2 separate regions of the Homo sapiens genome follow, and region 2 is linked to region 1. Evidence: promoter capture Hi-C in 16 types of primary human blood cells and fetal thymus (Javierre and others, 2016). All regions are on one chromosome and are shown on one strand. Each heading gives the region's core, a stretch centred on a gene start or on the middle of the fragment in contact. The rest is flanking DNA. Distances are from core to core; before and after follow the strand shown. Region 1 holds the start of HCFC2 (host cell factor C2). Region 2 holds the start of ALDH1L2 (aldehyde dehydrogenase 1 family member L2).

Region 1 (3,884 bases), core at 381-2,880:
GCCAAAATAAAATGAAAACCGATTATAACAAACAACGGTTATCATATACTATCAGCAAATATATATCATCAATATCAGTGGGTCTCAACTGGGGATGATTCTGCCCCCCAGAAGACATTTGGTAATGTCTGGTGACATTTTTAGTTGTCACAACTGGAGGGGGCTGTTACTGGCATCTAGTAGGTAGAGGCAGGGATGCTGCCAAACATCTTACAATGTACAGGGCAATACAGGGCAGCTTCCCCCAACCTCAACAAAGAATTACCTGGCCCAAAAGGTCGAGAGTGCTGCTGTTGAAAAACCCTGATCTGTATCATTTAATTCTTACAAAACGCCCTGCTGGGTGAGTATAAAAATCTCTATTTTACAACTGAAAATTGTGAGGCTTAAAAAGGTTTGGTAACTTTAGCGCTGATCCTGGGCAACCGGCAGAGCAAGATTCAAATCAGGTCTAATTTGTTCCAAAGCCAGGGATTTTACACTAAGACCAAAGTGTCAGTAACTTTTTACCTTCATATGCTGGGGCGCTGGGAGGAGGAGAGGGTGAAAAAAATAAAACTTCTCAGACTCCACTATTTTGTTAACCTTCAAATTATTCCTGTGATTAAGTTGTTTGATCAAAGAAAAGTTATCGGTCATGAAGTAGACCCAAAATTCCATCACTGTCTTTACACCAAACAGATTTCTTGTGACAGCCTGAGCATTTACAAGGGGAAAAAAAAATTAAATCCAGTTTCCTTTCTATTCCACAGAGGTCCTCAAAGATAGGGGCTCCCTGCCCAGGGGCACTTGTGATCTGCAGTGGTGCTCAAGTTATGACAGTCCTCTTTCCGAGGGCCAGTCCAGAAGGGCGTCCACACCGAGTATGCAGACACAAGGCCGCCTCACCACGTCCCCGCCGCTTTAGAGCGCGGCTCACGGAGGGGCTCTTGACCGTTACCTGCCAAACACCGGGTTGTATTTGAGGCGAGAGTGCCAGAAGGCCTCTCGTTTTCCCTCCTCACCCCCTAGATGGTCTTCCTCCTAAGGAAGGAAGGCAGGCAAAGACGGGAAAGGCCCTAAGGAACTTTGGTTTGGAGTGGGTTTTGTTTTTTGACAGAGGCGAGATTTCGGGGAGTGGCCCAGGCGGTTGGACATGGTCTTCTGTCGCCTGCGTCCGCCTGTCGGGCTGGGGTGGGGGCGTCCGGGATCCCCCGCCTGAAGGCCGGTGCGCCCCGCTCGGGGTCCGTTGCGCCCCAAGGGCCCCGGAGATCCTGAGCTGCGGTCCGGGACAGAGCTGCCGGACCCGGGCTGCCCGGCTGAGCCGCGCTCCCCGCCGCCCGCCCAAGGAAGCAGTGACCGGGCGGTGACAGCTGTCAGGGCCGCGGCCGCCGCCTCGCCTCCCCTCCCCCTCCGCAGCTCCAGCAGGCGGGGCCGACGAGCCGCCGCCGCGCCTACCCGTGTTGTAGACGTGCAGCTCATCCGCGATGCCCTCATTTCCCCCTCCAAAGATGATCATCAGCTCCCGGATGGCCACCGCTCGGTGTCCGTGCCGGGCGCGGGGGACCGGCCCCGTGAAGGAAGAAACTCGCCTCCAGTTGAGGAGGCTGGGAGCCGCCATCTTCCCAACCCCCGCCCCTCTGCCCACAATGCACCGCTCCCGCCTCAACCGGCTGCTCCCTGGGGAGGGCGGGGACCCGCCTCCAGCTGTGCTGGGGTCACGTGGCCGCGGGCGCCGGCGGCCAGGCTGGAGGCCCGCGGGCAGTGGAGAGACGCTGGGGAAGGGGGGTCCTGACAGGGGAGCCCCGCCCCCACCCCAGGCGACTTGGCCAGCGGCCACCCGGAGCAACGCACCTTAGGGTGGAAGGACGCTTCCCACTGACCACGTCTCCCATCCCCACCCAGAGCCTCCCGTTCGGTATTTTGGGAAGAAGCCACAGCATCTTCCTTTACGTCCACTTTAATTGAGCATCTAGGATGTGTGGGCGAGGCAGTCTCACAAGCAACGTGAGAGAAGCTCGGGTAGAGGTTCGAAGAGCTGGGAGCGCAGGGCGGGGACCTCGCACGGGAGGGTGCGGGCGGGAGCCTGCCTCGCGAGCCCGGGCCACGGCGGCTGCTCCCGACCGTGACTGGGACCCGGGCAGGGAAGGTCGCTACAAAGCCTGCCGGGCGAACCGAAGGCAGCTTTGTGCGGAGCCATGCCAGGAAGCTTGGGAACCGTGAGCCACAAGAGGTATTTTTGGTTTGTTTGGCTTAAGCAGAGGAGAGATGGTTTTCTAGGTTTCTGTTTCATTGCTAGCTAACAAGTGAGGGCTGTCCACAGCCTGGCATGCCCTAAGTGCCTCATGTGTATTAACTCATGTAATCCATCCAGCAATCCAGTGTGGTGGCTCCTGTTATCTCCCTTTCATGGACGGGGAAATGAGGCACAGTGCAGTAAGGTAATTTTCTGATGGACACAAAGGAGAGGTGTTGAAAAAAAAGACTGGGGCCAGGATTCCAACACAGGGCTTCTGATTCCAGAACCCCCAAGCCCTTATATCATATACCATACTGCCTCTGATAGCAGTCATATCCAACCATTATACCATACTGCCTCTGGTAGCAGTCATACGCAACTCTTTATTTTTATTTATTTATTTTAGATAGGGTCTGGCTCTGTTGCCGGAATGCAGTGGCGCGATCAGAGCTCACTGCAAGCTCGAGCTCCTGGGCTCCAGTGATCCTCCTGCCTTGGCCTCCCAAAGTGCTGGAACTACAGGCATGAGCCACCGCACCCAGCCAATGCAACACTTAATAAGGCCTAGCTGCCCTGTGATTTGGTCCTACACATAATCACACAAGTCCATTAGGAATAAAACTGCACTGCATATGGGATTCATGCCAAATGAGTAGATTTTAGCCACTCTTGCCACAGAGACACAAAAAGGGTTGGTGGTAACTATATGAGATGATGGATATGTTAATATGCTTCACTATAGTAACCTTGTGACTGCCTGTTTCAGCTGTCCCCAACCTTTTTGGCACTAGGGACCGGTTTCATGGAAGACAATTTTTCCACGGACTTGGCAGGGGAGTGGGTGGTATGGACTTGGCAAGGGGATGGGGGCTATGGTTTTGGCATGAAACTGTTCCACCTCAGATCATCAGGCATAAGATTCTCATAGGGAGTACACAATTTAGATCCCTCCTATGGGCAGTTCACAGTAGGGTTCGAGCTCCTATGAGAATCTAATGCGCGGTTGATCTGACAGGAGGCAGAGCTCAGGAAGGTCATGGGGGTTCCGAACAGGCCGAGGACTGGTTGCTGGGGACTGGGGACCCCTGGTCTATATGATATCAACTTCATATTGTATATCTTAAATATCCACAATACAAGTTATTTTTTAAAATTTTAATTGAAAAAGGACTGGGCATGGTGACTCACACCTGTAATCCCAGCACTTTTGGAGGCTGAGACAGAAGGATCCACTGATCCCAGGAGTTTGAGACCAGCTCGGTCAAGATGGTGAGATCCCATCTCTATTTTTATTAAAGAGAGATAAATAAGAGATACAAGTCCAGTGGAAGAAAAAATTGAAAGCAATTTAAATCCCTACCTCAGATTCTCAAGAGGTACTCAAAGGAGAACACAGACACTGTATAGTAAATTTCCTAAAACTCTTTTTTCCTCTTATTTTACCATTTTCAATTTCTCTTATATGCCTCATTCACCCAACTCCCTTAAACCTCAGCATGCTTCTCCACCTTCTCATCTATCTAAGCTTTTTTTGAGAGATAACTCTCTATGTTTTAAAAAGGAATTCTCAGGACGGGTGCGGTGGCTCACACCTGTAATCCCAGCACTTTGAGAGGCCGAGGAGGGCAGATTACCTGAGGTCAGGAGTTCGAGACCAGCCTGGCCA
Region 2 (3,884 bases), core at 980-3,479, 1.0 Mb before region 1:
ACTATACTTTTGATTCTTCCAGGGAAAAAGTAAACACAATGAATATTTCATTATATTTGAGTGAACATAAATTCTACATTTCCTAAACTTGGGAATAGTAATATATAACTATGGAACCTCATTCAGGAAAAAAAAAAAAAAAAAAAAAAAACCCCTCCTTATGCACCCTTCTAGTATACACAGATCAGAATAAATAAAGGGAATATCAATATTTGGAAGTTTAAAAAAGCAAGAAGTCACAAAATGCAGTCAGGAAAGTGGGTTGAATTGGCAAGATGTAGGGCTCAAAGCAAAACCTTGGATGTTTGTTGCAATTCTCCAAGTTTTTTTTTTTTTGAAACAGAGTCTCCCTCTGTCGCCCAGGCTGGAGTGCAGGGGCGCGATCTCGGCTCACTGAAAGCTCTGCCTCCTGGGTTGACGCCATTCTCCTGCCTCAGCCTCCCAAGTAGCTGGGACTACAGGCGCCCGCCACACGCCCGGCTAATTTTTTGTATTTTTAGTAGAGACAGGGTTTCACCGTGTTAGCTAGGATGGTCTCGATCTCCTGACCTCGTGATCCGCCCACCTCGGCCTCCCAAAGTGCTGGGATTACAGGCGTGAGCCACCGCGCCCAACCGCAATTCTCCAAGTTTTAATGATGGTTCTTTTTTGTCTCCTTACTCTCTTAAACACATTCATCCGTTTCAACAAGTTTTTTTTTAACAAGTTATTTTTTATTTTATTATTATTTTTTTAAAGCTCTGGTTAGTGCTAGATACTGTAAATCCTGATTAATCAGACATGGACTTAGCTTGCAAGGAGCTTCCAACAGAGACGTTAATAGGTATACAAATACCAGTAGCAGATTGAGACAGCCATAACAGATGCATAGACAAAGATTATTTCCTGTTAAGAGGAGTGAACAATTATTTATGGGGAATAAGGAGACTAAGAGAGAAAAGAATCAGAAAAAAGCGCCTCCAGGAGGCAGCATGTAAGCGGTACCTTTCAGAAAAGAAACGGTCGTGCCAAGATAATTACAAGTGACAGATGACAAGCTTTTCTGGGAAACATTGTCCAAGAAGGAATAGGCAAGAACTGCAGTCAAGCAGAATTACATATGCAAAAGAGCAGTGAGAAATAAGAGAAAATGGCAAATTGCAGACGGCCCTGAATGCTGGGCTAAGAAGTCTGGCTTGAGATAAACGTCCAGCTAAAGCAGGTCTGAGCGTTTTTTCCAGAGAGGTGAGGGAGAAGGGCACGTATCTATTAGGTTGATGCAAAAGTAATTGCGGGTTTGCCATTATTTTCAGTGGCAAAAACCACAATTACTTTTGCACCAATTTATTTATTTATTTTTAAGACAGAGTCTCGCTCTGTTGTCCAGGCTGAAGTGCAGTGGCATGATCTCAGCTCCACTGCAACCTCCGCCTCCCCGGCTCAAGTGATCCTCGTGCTTCAGCCTCCCGAGTAGCTGGGACTGCAGGCATGCGACATCACGCCCGGCTAATTATTTTATTATTTTATTATTTTTTATTTTTAGTAGAGACGGGGTTTCACCATGGTGGCCAGGCTGGTCTCGAACTCCTGAGCTCAGGCCATCTTCCCTCCTCGGCCTCCCAAAGTGCTGGGATTACAGGCGGGAGCCACCGCGCCCGGCCTACCGTCCTACGAGGTAGGCATCAGGATCCCTCCACAGCGAAGGCGCCCCCACTACCTATCTGTCTACAGGCGTGCCTTTTACGGGCTGTGCTATGGACAGCACTTGGGATGTCAGATTGACCACTAATAAGGTAGATCCGTATACACTGCTGCGGGGCTGAGTAACTGGTAGAGGGTCCCACAGTTAGAAAGCACCTGGACCTTGGCTGGAATTGGCGGAAAGTCCAGGCAGCGGAGAGGCGCGGTCCCTGGGACTGGGTGCGCTCTTGGCACCAGGGTCAGGGCCCACAGGCTCCAGGAAGCCCACGCGCTCCGCCGGGTCGCACCAGGTTGGCTGTCCGAACGCAGCCAGCTGGCGGGGCGGGGCCTTCCAGCTGGGGGCGGGGTCTTGACAGCTAGGGGGCGGGGCCTTGCAGCTGGTAGGGTGGGGCGGGCCGCGGGCTGTGGGCTTTGGGAGGGGTGCGGACTAGCAGAGGCCGAGAGCGGCGAGCCGCGAGCCAGGCAGTCCGGGGCATCCAGACTGCAGGCCGCGCCCAGGCCGCGCCCAGGCTGCGCCGCCCGCCTGCCTCCCGCGCTGCCGCGTCGCCAGTGCTAGCGCTCCTCTCCAGCATGCTGCGGCGGGGCAGCCAGGCGCTCCGGCGCTTCTCCACTGGCCGGGTGAGTCCGGCCCGGGCGAGCGTCCCGGCTGTCACCCTGTCCTGGTTTCCAGACTCCGGGGCGGGAGGGCCGGGGCGGTGGGGCTGGGGATGAGCAGCGATGCTTAGACTTTGCTAAACACCAAGACAGCGTTTAAAACAAACAAACAAACAAACAAAAACAGAGAGACCTCAGAGGAGGGCTTGGGGAGGGTCCCGGATGGGAACTGGCACGCAGGCCATTGTCTTCTGCCGGGAGGGGGCTGAGGATGCAGTTTTTGGACGTGTCAAGTCTGGCTGGGATGGCAAGGTGGGAACAGTCACTTGGTAAGGAGGACAGAGTCTGCTTCCTTTCCTTTTTCACTTCAATCATGAGATCCCTGGTCAAGAGCTGGAGCCATATGGAACCGAGACTGTCTCCTGGAGGAGGGGAGTATCAAGTCAATAGGGTCCTCGTTGGCGGCCTGGGAGGTGTAAGCGCTCGAGACTGGCACGCAGGGCCGGTTCAGATAATGGCACTCAAAGCTGATGGCTGCAAGCTCAGTATTCCTGAGCTGAGCTGCAGATGGCAAAATTTCTAGAATTGCCAGGCGCTGCAGAGGCAGCCACGCTGGAACACTATTCTACTGTAGCACAAGAACCGAGCTCTGGCCCAGCCCCGCGCCTTGGAATTGCATCAGCTCCTCCAGAAATGGAACCGAGAGAGGACACGTTGCACTGCGGTGCTGCCTTCAGCACCCAGGGGGCCTCGGGACTGTTTAGGGAAGAGAGAGAGAGAAAAAAAAAAAATAAAAACTGTCTTATGTATCGTATCTTTTATAGGAAGTACATAAAAGAATTTGCTTATCGATTCTTTTTCTCGGCCATGCCAAAGCCATATGTACATATGTATATATTCAGATGTAAAAAACTTGGAGGCAGAGAGAAGTCTTGAGTAGCACCAAAAACTGGCCCAAACTTGCATCAAAGGAAAAGCTTTCTGTATCCCAGACAACCCCAAATAATAAGAATTCGTTTTACTCTTTGCAACCAGTTCTAGTTACTTTGAGGTATAGTCACCTTTTATAAAACGAGGGGTGGGGGTGGGGAAGACCTGCTCTGCTAGGACTTTGGCCTGCTCTCCTGGACCCCTCATTAGCTTCCCCCACCACGTGGCACATGGGATCCCAGATGGATAGCACAGAAAGCAACGGGCTGTGCCCAATGCCTGAGCCTGTTTTGTTGGCCTCCTCTGTCAACACCTTTCACTGACTTGTCTTTTTTGGTGACCAGAAGGAAGTCTTGCAGAATGAAAAGATTTTGATAGTGCGGTTTGCATAAGATTTCAGTAATAAAAGGTAAACATCTCAGGTGGCAAATGGCATAAACAAAACTATGGATGTGGGGAAGAACTGGCGTGATCAGGGTCTAACTGTACGCAGGGGTGCATATGGAAAAGCAGTGATACTCATGGCTGGGAAGAAGACAGTTTCCTCAGTGGTCGAAAGGAAGCTACTGAGTGGTGAATGAAAAATGTGGGATGTTTTATCCTGTAGAAAATGTTCTGGACTGTGTTTTATAAGAATTATTCAAAATCAAACAGATACATGGCTGGTGGAAATATAAAAT

Evidence for each region. Contacts are between HindIII fragments. The CHiCAGO score rates a contact against its expected background, and 5 or more counts as called.
Region 2: the fragment with the promoter of ALDH1L2 here is called in contact with the fragment with the promoter of HCFC2 in region 1 in 8 of 17 cell types (monocytes, total B cells, activated CD4 T cells and 5 more); the score reaches 12.7 in monocytes.

The regions. Positions count from the first base shown.
Region 1 is chr12:104,062,277-104,066,160 of GRCh38, reverse strand. It overlaps HCFC2 (host cell factor C2), which reads right to left and starts at 1,630. Exons shown (of 15, transcript NM_013320.3): 1 at 1,438-1,630. The coding sequence starts at 1,600. It also overlaps a transcript of GLT8D2 not described here. RefSeq lists silencers at 1,254-1,393, 1,614-1,783, 1,765-1,934, 1,944-2,103, a cis regulatory region at 3,511 and an enhancer at 3,427-3,596. The HindIII fragment of the contact is 6,452 bases long and covers 1-2,190 here.
Region 2 is chr12:105,082,803-105,086,686 of GRCh38, reverse strand. ALDH1L2 (aldehyde dehydrogenase 1 family member L2) reads left to right here and starts at 2,229. Exons shown (of 23, transcript NM_001034173.4): 1 at 2,229-2,298. The coding sequence starts at 2,251. RefSeq lists a silencer at 1,922-2,351 and enhancers at 2,852-3,091, 2,586-3,386. The HindIII fragment of the contact is 2,214 bases long and covers 1,040-3,253 here.